Regions from separate parts of the Homo sapiens genome. Here all the other regions are linked to region 2. Evidence: promoter capture Hi-C in 16 types of primary human blood cells and fetal thymus (Javierre and others, 2016). All regions are on one chromosome and are shown on one strand. Each heading gives the region's core, a stretch centred on a gene start or on the middle of the fragment in contact. The rest is flanking DNA. Distances are from core to core; before and after follow the strand shown. Region 1 overlaps LRP11 (LDL receptor related protein 11). Region 2 holds the start of PPIL4 (peptidylprolyl isomerase like 4). Region 3 overlaps RAET1E-LRP11 (RAET1E-LRP11 readthrough). Region 4 has its middle 25 kb from the start of TAB2-AS1. Region 5 has its middle 48 kb from the start of TAB2-AS1. Region 6 has its middle 68 kb from the start of UST-AS2. Region 7 has its middle 68 kb from the start of TAB2-AS1.

The links. Contacts are between HindIII fragments. The CHiCAGO score rates a contact against its expected background, and 5 or more counts as called.
Region 1: a contact is called between a fragment that was not itself captured here and the fragment with the promoter of PPIL4 in region 2, in 5 of 17 cell types (naive CD4 T cells, erythroblasts, neutrophils and 2 more). The highest score is 7.5, in naive CD4 T cells.
Region 3: a contact is called between a fragment that was not itself captured here and the fragment with the promoter of PPIL4 in region 2, in 1 of 17 cell types (naive CD4 T cells). The highest score is 5.5, in naive CD4 T cells.
Region 4: a fragment that was not itself captured here is called in contact with the fragment with the promoter of PPIL4 in region 2 in 4 of 17 cell types (neutrophils, non-activated CD4 T cells, naive CD4 T cells and 1 more); the score reaches 7.2 in neutrophils.
Region 5: a contact is called between a fragment that was not itself captured here and the fragment with the promoter of PPIL4 in region 2, in 1 of 17 cell types (neutrophils). The highest score is 5.6, in neutrophils.
Region 6: a fragment that was not itself captured here is called in contact with the fragment with the promoter of PPIL4 in region 2 in 5 of 17 cell types (naive CD4 T cells, non-activated CD4 T cells, total CD4 T cells and 2 more); the score reaches 10.0 in naive CD4 T cells.
Region 7: a fragment that was not itself captured here is called in contact with the fragment with the promoter of PPIL4 in region 2 in 5 of 17 cell types (non-activated CD4 T cells, naive CD4 T cells, total CD4 T cells and 2 more); the score reaches 7.5 in non-activated CD4 T cells.

Annotation. Positions count from the first base shown.
Region 1 is chr6:149,827,369-149,830,419 of GRCh38, reverse strand. The region is part of intron 5 of LRP11 (LDL receptor related protein 11); the gene reads left to right. The region is part of intron 13 of RAET1E-LRP11 (RAET1E-LRP11 readthrough); the gene reads left to right. Among named protein-coding and RNA genes, the nearest start is that of RAET1E-AS1, 35 kb to the left of the region's middle. The HindIII fragment of the contact is 3,228 bases long and covers 1-3,051 here.
Region 2 is chr6:149,544,579-149,547,800 of GRCh38, reverse strand. It overlaps PPIL4 (peptidylprolyl isomerase like 4), which reads left to right and starts at 1,758. Exons shown (of 13, transcript NM_139126.4): 1 at 1,758-1,865. The coding sequence starts at 1,796. RefSeq lists enhancers at 189-865, 1,569-1,868. The HindIII fragment of the contact is 2,652 bases long and covers 870-3,222 here.
Region 3 is chr6:149,871,602-149,874,694 of GRCh38, reverse strand. The region is part of intron 5 of RAET1E-LRP11 (RAET1E-LRP11 readthrough); the gene reads left to right. The region is part of intron 1 of RAET1E-AS1 (RAET1E antisense RNA 1); the gene reads right to left. Among named protein-coding and RNA genes, the nearest start is that of LRP11, 8.8 kb to the right of the region's middle. The HindIII fragment of the contact is 1,552 bases long and covers 995-2,546 here.
Region 4 is chr6:149,230,607-149,233,624 of GRCh38, reverse strand. It overlaps a transcript of TAB2 not described here. Among named protein-coding and RNA genes, the nearest start is that of TAB2-AS1, 25 kb to the left of the region's middle. The HindIII fragment of the contact is 8,008 bases long and covers 1-3,018 here.
Region 5 is chr6:149,207,559-149,210,749 of GRCh38, reverse strand. No RefSeq gene overlaps it. Among named protein-coding and RNA genes, the nearest start is that of TAB2-AS1, 48 kb to the left of the region's middle. The HindIII fragment of the contact is 1,182 bases long and covers 1,185-2,366 here.
Region 6 is chr6:149,099,341-149,102,418 of GRCh38, reverse strand. No RefSeq gene overlaps it. Among named protein-coding and RNA genes, the nearest start is that of UST-AS2, 68 kb to the right of the region's middle. The HindIII fragment of the contact is 4,506 bases long and covers 1-3,078 here.
Region 7 is chr6:149,188,498-149,191,374 of GRCh38, reverse strand. No RefSeq gene overlaps it. Among named protein-coding and RNA genes, the nearest start is that of TAB2-AS1, 68 kb to the left of the region's middle. The HindIII fragment of the contact is 1,996 bases long and covers 332-2,327 here.

The DNA of each region.
Region 1 (3,051 bases), core at 219-2,718, 280 kb before region 2:
CTGCTTTGGATCAGTCCTGGGTTCTAATTCCAGCACCACCAATTACTAGCTACTAAGTAATCAACTTCTCTAAACTTCATTTCCTTACCTGTAAGAGGATAATAATCTCAGCTGGGCACGGTGGCTCATGCCTGTAATTCCAGCACTTTGGGAGGCCACGGCGGGTGGATCACCTGAGGTAGGGAGTTCGAGACCAGCCTGGCCAACACGGAGAAACCCCATCTCTACTAATAATACAAAAATTAGCCAGGCGTGGTGGTGCATGCCTACAATCCCAGCTTCTCGGGAGGCTGAGGCAGGAGAATCGCTTGAACCCAGGAGGTGGAGGTTGCAGTGAGCCGAGATTGCGCCAGTGCACTCCAGCCTGGGCAACAAGAGTGAAATTCTGTCTCAAAAAAAAAAAAAAAAAAAAGAGGATAATAATCTCTCATAATATGGCTACAAAGATTGCAGGAGATATTATATGTAAATATAATTGATGTCTCTCAGTAAATGTTAGTGCTGTTTGAATTTTTGCTAGAACATTCAAGTCCAGTGGTATTCGCTAGGAAACCAGGGTAAGAGAGCGCCAAGTGTATAAGGCAGTTAATTCAAATAAAAAATAGAAATAGTGCAGTAGTGTTTCCAGTACTGAGTTCCTTTAAGAATTAAGATGAGCAAGCTCTCATCTTCATTGGGAAGAAACAGTGAGGTGAACACTGTAAATGCAGTTATCTTATTTTTTTTATTGGGTGAAAGACAAACCAGTTAGTCCTCTGAAAAAAATCGGGAGTTGGTGAATTTTGGCACTTTGTTTTTATTCCTGGCTCATTTTTAATTTTATTTTTATTTTTATTTTATTTTATTTTATTTATTTTTTTAGATGGAGTCTCGTTCTCTTACCCAGGCTGGAATGCAGTGGCGCTGTCTGGGGTCACTGCAACCTCCACCTCCCAAATTCAAGCGATTCACCTGCCTCAGCCTCCCAAGTAGCTGAGATCACAAGCGTGTGCCGTCATTCCCAGCTAATTTTTGTATTTTTAGTAGAGATGGGGTTTCACCATGTTGGCTAGGCTGGTCTCGAACTCCTGACCTCAAGTGATCCACCTGCCTTGGCCTCCTAAAGTGCTGGGATTACAGGCGTGAGCCACCATGCCCAGGCCCTGGCTTATTATTTTTAAAAAGTAGGACTTGAGTTTCCCACCATGTGATCTTCCCACTTCCAAATTTATTATTGGAGAGAGAGATAAAGCAGAATGCATAGAAGTTCCTTTGCAAGCTAACCTGGCAGTACGGCATGGGGGAGGAGGAAAGGGATGAAGGGAGAAGTGCCACAAGTGGTTTTTAGGTAACTTAGCAGTTTGATTTCCAAGCTGTTTCAGGGCTGCTAGTTTTGTGTGTGCGGCTGCTGGATGGACTGTTTTGCATATCACTGATTTATATCTCTACAGAACAAATCTTGTGTTTCTTTTGGAGATCCACGAGCAACTGGCATTTGAAAAAATCAGGCATTATTGACTTTAAAACACAGTAATGTTTTCTATATCTCTACCAAGCAAAAGCTCAGGAACATTCACTGGAGTCTCTGTAGTAATCTAAACAAGGCTTACATTGAACCTTCAAAATGCTATTGAAAATATTCATATTTTTAGGTCAGGTGCTGTGGCTCACACCTGCAATTCCAGCACTTTGGGAGGTCAAGGCGGGAGGCTTGCTTGAGCTCAGGAGTTCAAGACCAGCCTGGGAAACATGGCAAAACCCCATCTCTACAAAAAAATAGAAAAATTAGTCAGGTGTGGTGATGCTTACCTGTAGTCCCAGTTAGTTGGGAGGCTGAGGTGGGAGGATCACTTGAGCCTGGGAAGTCGAGGCTGCAGTGAGCTGAGATTGCACCACTGCACTCTAGCCTGGGCAACAAAGGGAGACCCTGTCTCAAAAAAAAAAAAGAAAATAAAACATACTCATATTTTCAATATGGATATCAACACCATGAGATTTGCACCATAAAAGCAGTGGTTAAATATGTACCTATTAACTACCTCACCCCTGAGAAAAAGTGTAAAAATTACTTGCCACAAAAATTGCACTCTGGTCTGTCTACTAGCAGTAAAAATATAATAAAATAAAAAAGCTGCATGGTCTTATTTTTCTGTATTAAATAGTGCTTTCCTATGTCAGCAGATGTTTACAGTACTTCTAGTATAGCTTCCTAGGCCAGAATCATATATAATAAAATCTTTTTTTTTTTTCTTTTGAAAAGGAGTCTCTGTTGCCCAGGTTGGAGTGCGGTGGCATGATCTTGGCTCACTGCACCCTCCGCCTCCCAAGTTCAAGTGATTCTCCTGCCTCAGTTTCCCAAGTAGCTGGGATTACAGGCGCCCACCACCATGCCTGGCTAATTTTTTTTTTTTTTTTTTTTGAGACGGAGTCTTGCTCAGTCGCCCAGGCTGGAGTGCAGTGGCGCGATCTCGGCTCACTGCAAGCTCCGCCTCCAGGGTTCACGCCATTCTCCTGCCTCAGCCTCCCCAGCAGCTGGGACTACAGGCGCCCACCATGCCTGGCTAATTTTTTTTGTATTTTAAGTAGAGACAGGGTTTTGCCATGTTGGCCAGGCATGAGCCACTGCGTGCGGCCCTTATGTAATACAATCTTATAGAACTACCTGGCCTGGGATCAGGTATCATATAAGAGAATCCAGGTAGCTGGAGAGGTCCTTGGTGACCACTGTCGTGGCTACTGCAGTGAGTTGGACAGTAACAGAACTCTTTTTGCAGGGAAATCTGATCCTGCAGCCTATGAGCAATGGCTGTGCTTTCCTCATCTCTCTCCTTCTGTCTGAGCTCAGAGTTTATGGAGAAAGCCCAAATTATTGGCTGTATGTAGGACCAACATACATGGAACTTTCTAGAGTAACAAGACACAGTAGACTGTCCCCAAAGTGCCAGGATTATAGGCATGAGCCAGTGCACCTGGCCAACTTTGTGACTTAGTAAATTTGCAAAATGCAAGTTACCAAAGAATTTTATATACTACCTTTAAATAGTCTTATTTCATTTGCAGGAATTAGGAACA
Region 2 (3,222 bases), core at 509-3,008:
ATCGCACCACTGCACTCAAGCCTGGGCAACAGATCGAGACTCCGTCTCAAAAAAAAAAAAAAAAACCCAAACCGAAAAACCATATTTATTCATTCAACAAACATTTATTTGCACATTGTGTACCAGGCTGTCATACGCATTAGGGATATAGCTTTAAACAAAACAGACAAGATGGAATATCCTGGAACACACATTCTAGTAACAATAAACAAACAAACAAATTCGTAAATAGCATGTTAGATTGTAAAATGTACTCTGGAGAAAAAGCTATATGGAGAAAAAGAAGTGTCTGTGGGGTTAATTTTAATTATGGCAGCCATGGAGGGCCTCACTGACAGGGTGACCGACGCCAAAGCGCCTGAAGGAGGTGAATGGGAGCCATACAAATAACTGGAGGAAGAGGTCCCTCAACCAAGGCAAGTGAAAAGGCCATGGGGCAGGAGTATGTCAGCAGTGTTCAGGGAATAGCAAACTGTCTACTGTGGCTTCAGAGGAATAAGAAGATGGCGTAGGATGGGGTAGGAGAGGATCTTGTAAATCATTATAAAAGCTCTGGCTTTTCCGCCAGGTGCGGTGGCTCAAGCCTGTAATCCCAGCACTTTGGGAGGCGGAGGCGGGCGGATCCACGAGGTCAGGAGGTCGAGACCATCCTGGCTAACACGGTGAAACCCGGTCTCTACTAAAAACACAAAAAATTAGCCGGGCGTGATGGCGGACACCTGTAGCCCCAGCAACTCGGGAGGCGGAGGCAGGAGAATGGGGTGAACCCGGGAGGCGGAGCTTGCAGTGAGCCGAGATCGCGCCACTGCACTCTAGACTGGGCGACAGAGCGAGACTCCGTCTCAAAAAAAAAAAAAAAAAAAAAAGCTTTGGCTTTTCGTCAGATGTGAAGTTATTGGAGATTATGTGTAAAATGTCATAAGAAAGAGTGACAGGCTTGCCCAGAAGAGTGTCTGGGGAATAAACTTGCATGGCAAAATGTTAGTTTTGGCCAGGCGCAGTGGCTCACGCCAGTAATCTCAGCACTTCGGGAGGCCAAGGCGGGAAGAGTTCGAACTCCTTGAGCTCAGGAGTTTGAGACCAGTCTGAGCAACATAGTGAGACCACCTCCCCCGACCGCCATCTCTACAAAAAATAAAAGAACAAAATTAGCCGGGCGTGGTGGCGCGCGCCTGTGGTCACTTGGGAGGCTGAGACAGGAAAATCGCTGGAGCCCGGGAGGTGGAGGTTGCAGTGAGCCGACATCGCGCCACTGCACTCCAGCCTGGGCAACAGAGCGAGACCCTGTCTCAAAACAGAAAACAAAACAAAATGTTAGTTCTTAGAATCGGAAACCCCTAGTAGAGGCCCAAAGTTGTTTTGCGAAAAGGAGACTGACGAGGAAACCCGGAGGAGTCCGCCCAAATAGGTGGAGAGAAGATCCCGCCGCGGGCGCCCCCTGGTGGATAAAAGGGCCGCGCGGAGGGCCGCTCTGCTCTTGAGACGGACACAAACGGGGCACAAAACACTATACTGAGACCGTTCTGAGGGACAGGCTTCCACCAAAATCGCCAAGGGCGGACCAGGATTTTCAAAACGGCCGCGCCGGGGGCGGGACCAACCCGATCCGTAAGTCAGCTGGGCAGCCCGGCGCCCGCACGCCGACCGGAAGGAACTGCTCGGAACCGGGGGCGGCGCCGGCGAGATGACGCAAAAGGGGTCGCGCCGAGGGTGACGCGTGGCGTAGACGACGCCGTCGGCCTGCGCCTGTCACCCCCCTCCTCCCGGGGTTTGTAGCGGAGGAGGAGCGGGCGCCATGGCGGTTCTACTGGAGACCACTTTAGGCGACGTCGTCATCGACTTGTACACCGAAGAACGGCCGCGTGGTGAGGCTTGAGCCCCACTCACCTGTCGCCGGGGCCCCCGAGCTTGTCTCCCTACTTTCCCTTCTCTGCGCAGTCCAGGGCAGAGATTGGCTAGAGCTCGAGCTTCTGGGCTGCTGGTGCCCGCGACTGGGCTATTTTATTAACCGGCCTTGGCTAGAAAAGTTTTTGTGACGGGAATTCGTTTGAGCCTTGGCAGCCCTTCTCCCGTATTTTGTGTTGGCCAGTCCGGTGGACGGTGCTTGCGGTCATTAATTGCCTTTGGGAGTGTGTGTGTGGGGCGTGTGTGTGTGTGATTCGAGCTGCACATACAATACCCATAGCTTTTGTGCCTTTATTGTGTTTACTCGTGAGAGGAACATAGGAACTATTGCTTGGTGTGTAATCGGTTAAATCTTGATGAAGGCAGTTAGGGTGTGCTTGGCGCAGCGAGTGTGGGCATACCGCTTAGGTGGAGGAGGAAGAGGTTGTCTGGAGTGTGGACTGAGCCTTCGAGGCACTGGGCTAAGTCCTGGGCTTGGCTTCTTGCCCCCGAGGGTCTGATTTTTCCACTGGGGGAAGTAGACACAGGAACCCATTTTAGTTTTCTATGTGTTATGGTAGAAGAATGTGTAAGTTGCCACGGAAACCAGAAGAGGGCGGCTTCTTTGGTGGGGGGTGGGAAGAAGCAAAGCTAGCGAATACTATATAGAACACTTGAACTAGTTCTTTCAAAGATGAATGGGAATGAGGGTTTTCTTAGCTTGGACTTTCTTTGTTTGGAATTTTCTGGAAACGGCAAGTAGTTTGGTGTGGCTGGAAGGACTGGTGTGAGTCGTGGAATGGTAGACTCGAGTGTGGTCAGATACGCCTAGGTCAGTCGTGAATAGTCTTGTGTGCCCTACTGATGATCAGAGTCCTTGAAGACTTTAAAAGCAGGATTGAGGCATGGCATACTTGTTTTGAGAAGATAATAGGCAGCGGTGTGGAGAATGTATCAGAGTCAGGAAGAAACTGAGACCAGGAGAGATTAGTTACAAACAGGGTCCTACCCACATGGAATGCAGAGCCTATCAAAGAAGGTGAAATAAGTTGCAATATTGTACAATAACTACCTCCTGCCGTGCTCCGCTTTCCCTCGCACGCAGCTATTCCTCCCTCCTCTCCACCTGGCGAAAACACTACAAACTCTCCCGTACCATTGTTACCATTCTTTTGCTGTTTCTTCTAAACAATATTCTTCTCCACTATTGTCCTTCTGGCAAACTTACTACTTATTATCTAAATCTCAGATCAAGCATCATCTCTTCTTTGAAGCTCTCCCTCCTTTCTAAGCAGAGTTACCTGAGGGTTCCTCTGCTGTGTCTTAGGTCTTTTATAA
Region 3 (3,093 bases), core at 521-3,020, 330 kb before region 2:
AGATCTCAAATAATGTAACTTTAAATCCCAAGGAACTAGAAAAAAAAAAGCAAACTAAGTTGATAGTCAGCAGAAGGAAGGAAATAATAAAAATTAAAGCAGAAATAATCGATGAATTTGAGACTAGAAAAACAATAGATGAGATAAACGAAACTAAGAGTTGGTTTTATGAAAGATAAAATTGACAAACGTAGACTAATGAAGAAAAACAGAGAAGACTCAAATGATTAAAATTATAAATGAAAGACATCACAATTGATATCACAGAAAGACAAAAGATCATGAGAGACTACTATAAACAATTGTGCACCCACAAATTGGGTAACCTAGAAGAAATGGATAAATTGCTAGAAACATAACCTATCAAGACTGCATCATGAAGAAAGAAAACCAGAATAGACAATTAGTGAGAAAGGAGATTGAATCAACAATCAAAAATCTCCTCAGGAAGAAAAGGCCAGGGTCAGATGGCTTCATCAGTAAATTCTACAAGACATTTAAAGAAGAAATAACATCTGTTTTTCTCAAACTCTTCCAAAAAATTGAAGGAGATGGAGCACTTCCAAACTCCTTTTACAAGAGCAGCATTACCCTCACACCAAAGCCAGATAAGAAAAATATAAGAAAAGAAAATTACAGGCCAATATCCCCAGTGATCACAGATGCAAACATTCTCAACAAAATACCAGCAAACTGAATTCAACAGCACATTAAAAGGATCATACACCACGATCAAGTGGGATTTATCCCTGGGATGCAAGAATGGTTCAACATGCAAAGCAATAAATGTGACACACCATATTAACATAATGAAGGATAAAAATTATATGATCATCTCAACAGACACAGAAAAAGCATTTGACAAAATTTAGCATCTTTTTATAAAAAAACTCTCAACAAATTAGATGTAGAAGAAATGTATCTCAACATAATAAAGACTGTATACAACAAGCCCACAGCTAACGTCATACTCAAAGGTGAAAACCTGAAAGCTTTCCCCCAAAAATCAGGAAAAAGACAAGAATGCCCACTCTCAGTGCTTCTATTCCAGAAAGTATTAGAAATCCTAGCCAGAGCAATTAGGCAAGAGAAGAAAATAAAATATTCAGATGAGAAAGGAACAAGTTAAATTGTCTTTGTTTGCATATGACATGATCTTATATATAGAAAACTCTAAAAACTACTCCCCCAAACCATTAGAACTAATAAATAAATTCAGTAGGCCAGACATGGTGGCTCACAACTGTAATCCCAGTACTTTGGAGGGCTAAGGCAGGAGGATTGCTTCAGGCTAGGAGTTTGAGACCTGCCTGGGCAACATAGTGAGACCCTCATTCTCAGGAGGCTAAAAATGGGAGGATCACTTGAGCCCAGGAAGTCAAGTCTGCAGTGAGCCGTGATTGTACCACTGCACTCCAGCCTGGGTGACAGAGTGACCCTGTCTCAAAAATAAATAAGTTAATGTATACAACAAAGTTGTAGGATACAAAATCAACATACAAAAATCAGTTGGATTTCAATACACTAACAATGTATTATCTAAAAAATAAATTAAGACACATTTATAATTGCATCAAAAAGCATAAAATACTTAGGAATAAATTTAACAAAGGAAGTAAAAGGTGTGTACACTGAAAAATATAGACATTGATGAAAGAAATTAAAGTAGACACAAATAAAAGGAAAGATATCCTGTGTTCATGGATTGGAAGAATTAATATTGTTCCAATGTCCATACTACACAAAATGTTTTACAGGTTCATTACAATCCCTATCAAAATTCCAGTGACATTTTTCACAGAAATAGAAAATACAATCGTAAAATTCAAATGGAACCACAAGGCTGGGCACAATAGCTTATGCCTGTAATCCCAGCACTTTGGGAGGCTGAGGTGGGCTGGTCACCTGAGGTCAGGAGTTCAAGACCAGCCTGGCCAACATGGTGAAACCCCGTCTCTACTAAAAATACAAAAATTAGCCAGGCGTTGTGGTGCACGCCTGTAGTCCCAGATACTCAGGAGGCTGAGGCAGGAGGATCACTTGAATCCAGGAGGCAGAGGTTGCAGTGATCTAAGATTATGCCATGAACTCCAGCCTAGGTGATAGAGCACGACTCCATCTCAAAAAAAAAAAAAAAAATGGAACCACAAATGAACTCAAATAGCCAAAGCAATCTGAGAAAGAAGAACAAAACTGGAGACATCACACTTCTTGATTTCAAATTATACTACAAAGCTATAGTAATCAAAACAGTATGGTACTGGCATCAATGCAGACATATAGACCAATAGTGGAACAGAACAGAGAGCCCAGAAATAACCCCACACATATATGGTCAACTAATTTTGACAAGGGTGTCAAGAATATGCAATAGGGAAAGGATAGTCTCTTCAGTCAATGGTATTGAGAATAAGTGGTAACCACATCCAAAGAATGAAATTGGACCTTTATCTTACAACCTATACAAAAGTTAACCCAAAATGTATTAAGATTTAAATGTAAGACCTGAAACTGAAACTACTAGAAGAAAACATAGGGAAAAAGCTTCTTAACATTGGTCTTGGTAATAATTTTCTTGATGTGACACCAGAAGCACACAAAAGCAAAAATAAACAGCTGGGACTGTATCAAACTAAAAAGCTTCCGCACAATAAAGGAAACAATCAACAGAGTGAAAAGACAACCCACAAAATGGGAGAAAATACTTGCAAACCATGTATCTGATAAAGAATTAATATCCAATGTTCGTCTTTAACACAGAAAGAACTCATATAACTCAATAGCAAAAACAAAAACAAAACCTGCTTTTCAAAAACTGGCAAAGGACACGAATAGACATTTTATTCAAAGAAAACCTACAAGTGGGTGACAAATACATAAAACGGTGCTCCACATTATTAATAATCGGAGAAATGCAAATCAAAATCACAATGAGATATCACCTTGCATCTGTTAAAGTGGTGTTATCATTTAAAAAAAAACACAAGAAATAACAAGTGTTGGTGAGTGTGTGGAGAAAAGAGAACCCTTGCACACTGTCAGTGGGAATGTAAATTGGTATAGCCATTATGGAAAACAGTACAAAAAAAAGTT
Region 4 (3,018 bases), core at 38-2,537, 310 kb after region 2:
GAAGAATGTCAGATCCATGAGTCATTTGGTAAACAATTACTTAGTGCTTTGTTAGGGGGCAGTTACATGTTGGTGATTCAGGGATAAAAAACCACTTCTGGCCTTTAAGAGGCTCATAATATAATGGAGGAGACAAACCAATGGCTCAACCATGACACTTACGTGTGACAAATCAGATGAAGAGATAAGAACTGGTTGCTGGGCCCTGGGTGGCTCTGGGCCCAGGCAGGAAGGAGGTTTAGTTTGCTGCTTTCTGCGGTGAGCTTTCAGGATCAACTTTCTTGGCCTACAGTAGAGGCGTCTCAGTGGAGAAGCCAAGGAGGCACACTGAGCGGAGGGAGGTTTGTCTCGGACCCTGGATGACAGATTCTTGGTCACTGTGCTAAGTGCCCAAGTTGTGACTTGTGCTGGAAAGCCCTTGTTTCTCACCCCCCGCCAGGTAGTTACCATGGCATTCATGACTTCCTTGGTTATTTCCTGTCATCATTTGTCCCCACCCATGAGTGCCTGGCTACCTCCATCTTCCGGCTGGTGGGTCTGCATGCAGGATATATCACTCCTGGTGTGAGGGGTGGACACTAGGCAGGTGAAACAGGGCTATTATGTACTATGCCCTGGCATGGGAGTGGGTACTCCTGGCCAGGATGTCAGCTGTGCCTGCCTTTTGGGCTTCGACTTCCACACAGGTCGCTGTGAGGGAAGTACAGCAGCATCCCTCAGGATGGGCCAGGGGTACGACAGCATTCCAAGGCTTGTTCTGCTCTGGGGCACTTTCTCTGGAGGCAGTTTAGTGTAGAGGATGAAAGCCTGCTTGGAGCCTACTTCTCCAAGCCTCAGTTTCCTCATCTGAAAAATGGAACTCTACTTTGTTGGATTAAAGGAAATAACTAATAGAAGGCAATAAACACAATGCTTGCTATATAGGGACAGCTAACTACACCTAGTGTTATTATCCAGTTCAGTGATACCCTCCCCCCACTTCTATGGTTTGAACAAGGCATAGCCTCCCTTAGTGGTATTCCTGTCATCGGCCTTGTTCCTGCCTCAGTGACACTGTGAGATCATAGTTCTGTCTTGTGTTAATATATCAAGCTCCTGGGCTGAGGGTGGTGGCTCACGCTTGTAATCTCAACACTTGGAGAGGCCGAGGCAGGCGGAACACTTGAGGTCAGGAATCCTAGACCAGCCTGGCAAAATGGTGAAACCCCGTCTCTACTAAAAATACAAAAATTAGCTGGGCGTGGTGTTGTGTGCCTGTAATCCCAGCTACTTGGGGGGCTGAGGTAGGAGAATCACTTGAACTGGGGAGGCGGAGGTTGCAGTGAGCTGAGATGGTGCCACTGCACTCCAGCTTGGGCGACAGAGCGAGAGTCCGTCTAAAAAAAAAAATCAAACTCCCTTTGTTTCTGTGTCTGTGGGTTGGCTGGTGGTCCCCGAGGCCTGGCCTCGTGCTCTTCCCTCTTCCTTATTTCTGCTGAACACTAAGGAACACCTCCCCAATCATTCTTCTCTTTCTAGCGCACGTCTTGTTCCCTGTCCTGTAAGTTCACAGAGTTTTCCCCCTCCACCCTCAAATTTCTGTTTCTGATCCTCACAATCAGGTCAGTGAGCTTCCTGTTAAGCATGTTTTCCCAAGCGTTTGTAGATCCTCTCGCTGTCCTTTGCCAGTAACCCGTTGCTCTGGGTAGGGAGCCCTGGTCCAGAAACCCTGCTCTCCGATACTCTGTAAAAGCCAGCTGTTCACTCCTCTCTTTTTTGCTTCCAAAGTTGTGAAACTTCAACTGGAAGAAGAAATGTAAACACCTCCTCTGCTCCCCTGATGTTTGAGCTTCCTCTTACTTGAGGACCAGAGATACGGTCTAAATGTCTTCCCCACTGTCAACTTTCCAAAGGAGATTTTCACACTCATTTCGAAAATACTTTGCTTAATTTTAGGTGTTTTAATATAGGAGCTCTAGCTTAGCTTATTTAAATTTCTTCTTTCAAGAGAAATTAGACTCATCTACATATGTACATATGCAGTGATTAAGTGCTTTTCCCAAGACAGTCAATATTATATAGAAAAGACATTTAAAGCGTGTTCAACTTACTTTAGGTATCACCCCCAAATCAAGTTTAAAATTTAATTTGTAGGAAAATTAGAAGAAAACACCACAAAGAGTTGTTAAACAAATGATTGCTTCCTACATACATACATGCAATTTACAGAATGCAATTAAGTATCTGATTGCATAAGTATATAACCACAGATGCATGCTGTTTTCTTGCTACTTTTTCCACCATTTTCTATGGAACAGAAAATAAAGTCTCTGACATTAAAGTGGTGACTGTTCAAGCTCACAAGGCATGCGGTAGTTATTAATCATCAGCTCCACTGCCCTTTTCATATGTAATAAAATGGAATCATTGTCCACATTTCGTCTCCCCTTCCTAATGTTCCCCAAATACTGGTGTAAAAGTTCAGAAGCACAAGAACTGAATTGTAATGAGGTGAGGCTGCAAGTTTAGTGTGGCAGCCTCTGATTAGAATGTAGGTATCCTGAAGGCAGAGAGACCTGCTTTCTATCTCACAGGGTTCCTTCTGAGAGCGCCCATTGGGAAGTGGGCTGACCAGCTCAGTAAGTGAGCTTGTCCAATTCCTACCCCATAGCACATCTCTCTCATGCAGCAAAACCCAGGACTGTGAATGCACAAAACATGCAGGAAGCCAAGGGGCCTGTTTTCAGTTCCCCTAAAATGCCAGAATAGCAGCCTGACCATAGAAAAATACTTACTGTAATTTCCTAACCTTTGCTGTGAATGTCAGTGTGTCAAAAGCGGGGTCCAATAGCTAGAATGAAAATAGACCTTCTAGTTCATGACAGCTCATCCTTACGGCCTTGTAGGGCAAGGAGGCTTCCACTGAAGCCATCCAATTTACAGATTTCCCTGTCCTGTGTGGATTATGACTGCCTAGAACTGTCAATGAGCTTATTATCAAGGACCTGGAGTCAAGCATCACATGGACCACTGAGCTTG
Region 5 (3,191 bases), core at 526-3,025, 340 kb after region 2:
TTAGGAAACAGATGACTAGGGACTCTGGGTCCCCTCACTGGGCCACAGTCTGGATAACACCTTCCTGCTATCTACCCACTACAAATAGAGCCCCAGACTTAGTGTCACACTCTGAATCTGGGGTTATGTCTCGAGGACTCCAGTCCTTTTCTGCCCATTTCTACAACATATGACTCATCTAAATCTGCTCCCTGCAACCACAGCTAGCAACAAGCTGGTCTGAGAAGGCTGGCTTTGCATGGGATTGTCTCTGTTGTTTGTCAGTCTATTTAAAACACTCAGTACAATTGTCAGGAAATATGCTTTGACTGCCTGGAAGAAAAGCAGGAGTAGTAAGCAAGTCAGTGCTTTGAAAAACCTACAAATATCTAAGAAGCCCTCTCAATCACCTTTTGTTTATATCCAGATATGCAGAGCCTTATTTGACCTATTTCCTCATCAGCAATGGATGTGTTTTATTGAGGTCCTCCTACGTGCAAGACATTCTATAAAATTCCTTGCATGTATTTTCTCATTTTTCATGAAAACTGTGTTGACTAAATGTTATCTCTGTTTGGCAGAAATGGAGATTGAAGTTCAGAGAATTTAAGTACAAGTAGTAGATGGCAATGCTGAGACTGAAACCCAGGTTTATCTTTTTCTTAAGCCTATGTATTTTTTTAAAAACTATGCTGTGCTGTTGTAGATGAAAGTTTCTAATCACTCCAGCACTACTTATCTACCCTGTGCAGCTATGCCTGGGCTTACTATAAATGTTCAGAGCAGTCTTGAGCCCTTTCAGCTCTGTCTCTTCCATGCCCTCTGCCAATGTGGAGGGGTAGATGAGCCTCCTCCTTCTTACTGGTCTTGGACAGCAGGAGTAGGAGTGAGGATTAAAAATAATAGATCAAATGCACTCACACATCTCCCAAGAACGAACAGTAGGATATGGTTTGGATATTTGTCCTGCCCAAATCTCATGTTGAAATGTAGTCCCCAGTGTTGGAGGTGGGGCCTGGTGTTTGAGCCATGGGGGCTGATGCCTCATGACTTGGTGCTGTCCTCACAATAGTGAGTGAGTTCTTATGAGTTCTGGTTGTTTAAAAGTGTGTGGCACCTCCCCAACCCCTGACTCTTTCTTTTACTCCCACTGTCACCATGTGAGATGCTTGCTCCCCCTTTGCCTTCTGCCATGATTGTAAGCTTCCTGAGGTCTCCCCGGACATCATGCAGATGCTAGCACCATGCTTCCTGTACGGCCTGCAGAACAGTGAGCCAATTAAATCTCTTTTCTTTATAAACTACCCAGCCTCAGGTTTTCGTTTTTTTTTTTTTTATATATAGCAATGCAAGAATGGCCTAACACACAGTAATTCTCAAAAATATCACATTTGGAAAGAGTGGCATATTTCCTAACATGAAACACCCTCTGCATGGATTTCCCCCATCCACAGTGTAACATGTAAAGCAATTACTTAGTCAATGGGTAGTGCCATTACCTTCTTTATTCACATGCCTGCTTCAAAATTCTCCACTCTTTCATCTCTACCTTCCCCCTTCTATGTCCAGGAAATAAGACTTGATATAAAATCACTTGTTCCTTAGCTAGACAAAGACCCAGTCAAATCTTTGAAATTAGTGCTTAAAACATTAAAGAAGTAATAGAGGCGGCCGGGCGCAGTGGCTCACGCCTGTAATCCCAGCACTTTGGGAGGCCGAGGTGGGTGGATCACGAGGTCAGGAGATCGAGACCACGGTGAAACCCCGTCTCTACTAAAAGATACAAAAAATTAGCTGGGCGCCGTGGCGGGCACCTGTAGTCCCAGCTACTCGGTAGGCTGAGGCAGGAGAATGGCGTGAACCCAGGAGGCGGAGCTTGCAGTGAGCCGAGATCTCGCCACTGCACTCCAGCCTGGGTGACAGAGCGAGACTCCGTCTCAACAACAACAACCAAAAGTAATAGAGGCAAAAGTTTTACAACATTCAAATAGCACAGAAGGAGAGAAAATAAACCAAAATAAGCCCATTCCTGCCTACCCTAAGTCTAAGTCCTGAGAGATAATTTTTATTTATTGATGTTTTAAATAATTTTGGTGTCTACTGTAACATCATTACACTAGAAATATGCTTATAGTTCCTTTTGAAAACAACATTGGATGGTATCTACTGGCTGCTCACTAAGAAACGTGAAGGATTTTGCACACAGCTATTATTTCCCACACACGTCTCCTGACAGTTGTGCTGCGTTTGCAGGGGGAGGGAAGGGGGGCACTGGGGTCTGCTCTCTTATCCCATTGGTGGTCCTTTCAATACTTGCCTTGATGTCTGCCCCCTGGCACACTCCTGTTCTCTACTAGTTGACTCAGAGCTTGGCATTGCCTGAAGCTTGATCAGTCAGGGGTCTGTCAGGAAAACAGAACTTATGCCAGGTAGTTCAATAGAGAGAATTTAATTAGGGGAATTAATTATAAAAGTCTTGGAAGAGCTGACAGAGCAAACTGAAGAATGAAGCAACTCAGATTTTAGAAGCAGAGGCGAGTTGGAGGATGGCATTCACAGAGTTTAGCAGCTCTGGCCCCCTTGCTGCATACTGGGAGAGCCTCCCAGCTACAGCAAGCCTTCCAGAAGGAACTAGAATCATGGAGTAGATGTAGCTGCTACTGGAAACACTGCCCAAGGCAGAGATAGAGGGGAGAATCACCCTGGCTTCTTCGGTTCTCCCTCCTGCCAGTCCCTTGCTAGTGCCTCCCGTTGGTTGACATCAGCCAGAAGCCAGTTTGGCAAGGGAGTCTGGAAAATATAGATTATAGGAGTTAATACTTTGAGACACAGAAAGAGCAGAGAGAGAGAGAGACAGAGAGAGAGAGAGAGAGTAGGAAATTAATCTGAACGCAAACAGGTGAATGATGGTGCTACAGGTTAAATTGTGCCCCCCTAAAAGATAAAAGATATGTTGAAGTTCTAGTCCCTGCTACCTCAGAGTGTGACCTTATTTGGGCATAGGGTCATTGAAGATGTAATTAAGATAAGATCATATTGGAGTAGGATGGACCCTGAATCTAGTATCGCTGGTGTCCTTATAAGAGGAGAAGGCTAGGCTCAGTGGCTCATGCCTGTAATCCCAACAGTTTGGGAGGCTGAGGTGGGCGGATCATCTGAGGTCAGGAGTTTGAGACCAGCCTGGCCAACATGGTGAAATCCTGTCTCTGCTA
Region 6 (3,078 bases), core at 104-2,603, 440 kb after region 2:
ACCATGATTGTAAATTTCCTGAGGCCCCCCCAGCCAAGCTGAACTGTGAGTCAATTAAACCTCTTTCCTTTATAAAATTACCCAGACTTGGGCAGTTCCTTATAGCAGTGTGAAAACGAACTAATACAGGATGTTTTTCCATTTGTTTGTGTCATCTATGATTTCTTTCATCAGTGTTTTGTCATTCTCCTTATAGAGACCATTATTCTCCTTGGTTAAATGTATTCCTAGGTATTTTATTTTTCTTATAGCTATTGTAAATGGGATTGCTTTCTTGATTTGGTCCTTGCCCAGGTCATGATTGTTGTATAGAAATGTGTCTGATTTCTGTATGTTAATTTTGTATCCTAAAACTTCGCTAAATTCATTTATCAAGTCTAAGAATTTTTTGGGTAGTGTCTTTAGGGTTTTCTAGAGATAAGATTAATCATCAGCAAAAAGGGATAATTTGACTTCTTCTTTTCTGATTTTGATGCCTTTTATTTTTTTTTCTTTTGCCTGATTGCACTGGTGAGGACTTCCACTGCTATGTTGAATAAGAATTATGAAAGTGGACATCCGGCATTATTCACAATAGCAAAGACTTGGAACCAACCCAAATGTCCAACAATGATAGACTGGATTAAGAAAATGTGGCACATATACACCATGAAATACTATGCAGTCATAAAAAATGATGAGTTCATGTCCTTTGTAGGGACATGGATGAAATTGGAAATCATAATTGTCAGTAAACTATCGCAAGAACAAAAAACCAAACACTGCATATTCTCACTCATAGGTGGGAATTGAACAATGAGATCACATGGACACAGGAAGGGGAATATCACACTCTGGGGACTGTTGTGGGGTGGGGGGAGTGGGGAGGGATAATATTGGGAGATATACCTAATGCTAGATGACGAGTTAGTGGGTGCAGCGCACCAGCATGGCACATGTATACATATGTAACTAACCTGCACAATGTGCACATGTACCCTAGAACTTAAAATATAATAAAAAAGTAAATAAATAAATAAATAAAAAAGAAAGTGGACATCCTTGTCTTGTTCCAGTTCTTGTAGGGGATACTTTCAACTTTTCCCCATTAAATATGATGTTGGCTGTGGGTTTGTTGTATGTGGCCTTTATTATGTTGGAGTAAATTCTTTCCAGGCCTAGGTTCTTTTCATCTTTCTTGAAGATTTTTATCACTAAGGCATGCTGAATTCTATTGAATGCTTTTTCTGCATCTATTGAGATAATTATATGGTTTTTGCCCTTAATTCTGTTTATTTGATGTATAACATTTATTGATTTTCATATGTTGAAACATCCTTACATCCCTGGGATACAACCCAACTGATTATAGTGTATTAACTTTTGGATGCACTGTAGGATTTGATTTGCTAGTATTTTGTTGAAGATTTTTTCATTTATGTTCATCAGGGATATTGATCTATAGTTTTATTTTTGTGATGTGCCATTGTCTGGTTTTGGTATCAGGTTGATACTGGCTTGTAGAATGAGTTAGGGAGAATACCTTACTCCTTAATTTTTTTTTTAATAATTTCAGGAGGATTGGTATTAGTTCTTTGTATATTTGGTACAATTTGGCTGTGAATCCATCTGGTCCTGGGCTTTTTTTGTTGGAAGATTTTTTACATTACTGCTTCAATTTCACTACTTATTATTGCTCCATCCAGGAGTCCTATTTCTTCCTGGTTCAATCTCAGGAGGTTGGTGTGTTTCCAGGAATGTGTCCATTTCCTCTAGATTTTCTTTGTTTGTGAGCATATAGTTGTTCATACAGTAATAATAATAGTCTCTGCTGAAGCTATTATTTCTTTTTCTTTTTGTATTTCTGTGGTATCAATTGTAATGTCTCCTTTTTCACTTCTGATTGTGTTTATTTGGATCTTCTCTCCTTTTTCTTGGTTATTCTAGCTAGTGGGTTATCAATTTTGTTTATCTTTTTGAAGAACTTACTTTTCATTTCATTGATCCTTTATATTATTTTGTTCTCTATTTCATTTAGTTCTGCTCTGATCTTTGTTATGTCTTTTCTTCCGCTAACTTTGGCTTCGTTTTGTTCTTGCTTTTCTATTTCCTTGAGGTGCAACATTGGGTTGTTATTTGTTATTTCTACTTTTTTTTCCAAAGTATTTTTTAATTTTAATATTTGTGGGTACATAGTAGGTGTATATATTTATGGGTTACATGAGATGTTTTGATACAGGCACATAATGCATAATAATATTATGTAAAATGGGGATATCTATCCCTTCAAGTATTTATCCTTTGTGTTACAAACAATCCAGTTATGCTCTTTTAGTTATTTTAAAATGTACAATTAAATTATTATTGACCATAGTCATCCTACTATTGTATTTCTCGATGTAGGCATTTAATATTATAAATTTAACTCTTAGCACTGCTTTTGCTGTATCTCCCAGGTTTTGGAATGTTTTATTTTCATTTTCATTCATTTCGAAAAATATCTTAATTTCTGTTTTAATTTTTTCATTGACACAGTGAGTTTTTCAGGAGCATGAATTTTAATGTCCAGGGGTTGGTATGAGAAAGCTCTAAAGTACCTTTTGGTATTGATTTCTAGCTTTATTGCACTGTGATGCAAAAAGATACTTCATGGAATTTTGATTTTTAAAAACTTGTTCAGGATTGTTTTGTGGCCTAACATGTGGTCTGTCTTGGAGAATGTTTCATGTGCTGATGAAAAGAATGTGTATTCTGTAGTTTTGGGGTGAAATGTTTAATAAATGTCTGTTAAGTTCATTTGGTCTGAAATCCAATTTACCCCAATGTTTTTGTTAATTTTCTGTCTTGACAATCTGTCTAGTGCTGTGAGTTGGGTGTTAAAATGCTCCACTCTTATTTGTATTGCTTTATTTCTTTCTTTAGGTCTAGTAACATTTATTTTATGAATTAAAGTGCTGCAATGTTGAGTGCTTATATATTTAGAATTGTTATATTCTCCTGTTGAAGGATCCCTTTATCATTACATAATGACCTCCTTCGTCTTTTTCTAAATTGTTTTTTATTTAAAGTCTGTTTTATCTGTTATCCGTATAGCTACTC
Region 7 (2,877 bases), core at 80-2,579, 360 kb after region 2:
CATTATCTTTATGTTTTATTTTATATCTTTGAACATGTTAATAAGATTTTAAAATCTTAATCTTTCAATATTAAATCTTTTAAGGTCCTTCTACCCATTCTATTATCTCTGGCATTTCTGAGTCTGTAATTGATTCTTCTCCTGGTTATAGGTAATCTCTTCTCGTTTCTTTACATGCTTTGTGATTTTTGATTGAATCTTAGCCATTGTCAATTTTACGTTGTTGAGTGCTCATTTTACTGTATTTCTTTAATGAATACCGACTTTTTTCCTTTTTAGCAGTTAAGTTACTTGGGATCAGTTTTATCTTTTTAAGACTTTCTTTTAAGCTTGTTATGGTGGGCCCACCACATCCTTTAGTTAGGGCTAATTTAGCCCCTCTACTCTGGCATCATGATTTTTGCCAATACATTGTTATTGGTTTTGCCTTGAAGACTTTAAAAATGTTTTATTCTTTAAAAAATATTTTTTATAAATAAATATATTTTCTTAAATATTAAAATTGAGGAAAAATGATCTTTTAAAAAAAAGTTTTCTCACCGGCTGCCTGGATATAAAGTTGGTGCTGTTGGGGGAGCACAGGGGGATTGAGACTGGCCTTTTTGGCTGCATAGGGGCTGGGTGAGGCCTGTCACTGCCAACTTTCCACCACTTCCCTGGCAACCTGTATGATGCAGCAGAGGCAGCCATAATCCCCCAGGAAACATAACTCTGTCAGCTGGAGAAAAACACCCTCATCCCCTATAGCAGCCACAGCAAGCCTTGCCCAAGGAGAGTCTGAGCTCAGACATGCCTAACACTGCCCCCACCTGATGGTCTTTCTCTACCTGCCCTGGTAGCCAAAGACAAAAGACATTATCTCTTTGAAGCTCTGTGGCTTCACCCATCACCTGGCCAACCTAGGGCAGGCTTGTATCCTCCCTGTACTACCACAGCTGATGCTGTCTTGAAAGCGCCACCTCCTGGCTGGAGGCCAATCAACACAAACCATTACAGCAACTCATAAAAGAACAGCCTTGTCCCAAGAAAGGAGAAAACAGCTAACTCTACTGCCTGTAACATCCTGGATAACCAGAGGTCCTGAGTCTGTCTACATGACAACTTTACTGCCAGGACAACCAGCATTAGAGAAAACCAGCACACTAAACAAAACTACAACAAAGTTCCCACAAAAAGTCCACCTCACTCCTCTGCTACCTCCACTGGAGCAGGTGCTGGTATCCACCTGAAGATGGATCACATCACAGGACTCTTTGCAGACACTCCCCAGTACCAGCCCAGAGCCTGGTAGCTCCACGGGGTGGCTAGAATCAGAAGAGAAATAACAATCACTGCACTCTGGCTCTTAGGAAGCCCCATCCCTAGAGGAAGGGGAGTGTGCCACATCAAGGGAATACCTGTGGGGCAAAAGAAAATGAACAGCAGCCCTTGAGCCCCAGATCTTTTCTCTGACACAGTGTACCCATATGAGAAGGAACCAGAAGAACAATTTTGGTAATATGACAAAACAAAGTTCTATTATGCCCCCAAAAGATCACACTAGCTCACCAGCAACGAATCCAAACCAAGAAGAAATATCTGAATTGCCAGCAAAAGAATTCAGAAGGTCAATTATTAAGTTACTCAAGGAGGCACCAGAGAAAGGTGAATACCAACTTAAAGAAATTTAAAAAATGTTACAGGATATGGATGGAAAAATCTCCAGAGAAGTACATAGCATAAATAAAAAGTAGTCACAACTTCTGGAAATGAAGGACACTCTTAGAGAAATGCAAAATACGTGGAAAAACCTCAACAATAGAATTGAACAAATAGAAGAAAGAACTTCAGAGCTCAAAGACAAGGCTTTCAAATTAACCCAATCTGACAAAGACAAATAAAACAGAATCAAAATAATGAACAAAGCCTCCAAGAAGTTTGGGATTCTGTTAAACAACCAAACCTAAGAATAATTGATGTTCCCAAGGAAGAAGATAAACGCAAAAGTCTGGAAAACATATTTGAGGGAATAATCGAGGAAAACTTCCCTGGCCTTGCTAGAGATTTAGACATCCAAATATAAGAAGCTCAAAGAACACCCAAGATATTCATCACAAAAAGCTCTTTGCCTAGGCACATAGTCATCAAGTTACCTAAAGTCAAGAAGGAAAGAATCTTAAGAGTTGTGAGGCAAAAGCATCAGGTAACCTATAAAGGAAAATGTATCAGATTAACAACAGGTTTCTCAGCAGAGACCCTATAAGCTAGATGGGATTGGGGTCTTATCTTTAGCCTCCTTAAACGAAACAATTATCAGCCCAGAATTTTGTATCCAGCGAAACTAAGCTTCACAAACAAAGGAAAGATATAGTCTATTTCAGACAAACAAATGCTGAGAGAATTTGCCACTACCAAGCCAACACTATAAGAACTGATGAAAGGAGCTCTAAATCTTGAAACAAAACCTCAAAATACACCAAAATAGAACCTTCTTAGAGCATAAATCTCACAGGACCTATAAAACAATAACAATGAAGAAAAAAAACCCACAGGGTATTCAGGCAACAATTAGCATGATGAATAGAATAGTACCTCACATCTCAATACTAATGCTGAATATAAATGGCCTAAATGCTCCACTTAAAAGATACAGAATGGCAGAATGGATAACAATTCACCAACCAAATGTCTGCTGCCTTCAAGAGACTCATCTAACATAAGGACTCACATAAACTTAAGGTAAAAGGGTGGAGAAAGATATTCCATACAAATGGACACCAAAAGCAAGCAGGAGTAGCTATTACCATATCAGACAAAACAGATATTAAAGCAACAACAGTTAAAAAAGACAAAGAGGGACATTATATTACAATCCTAAATATTACATGCAGCTAATAT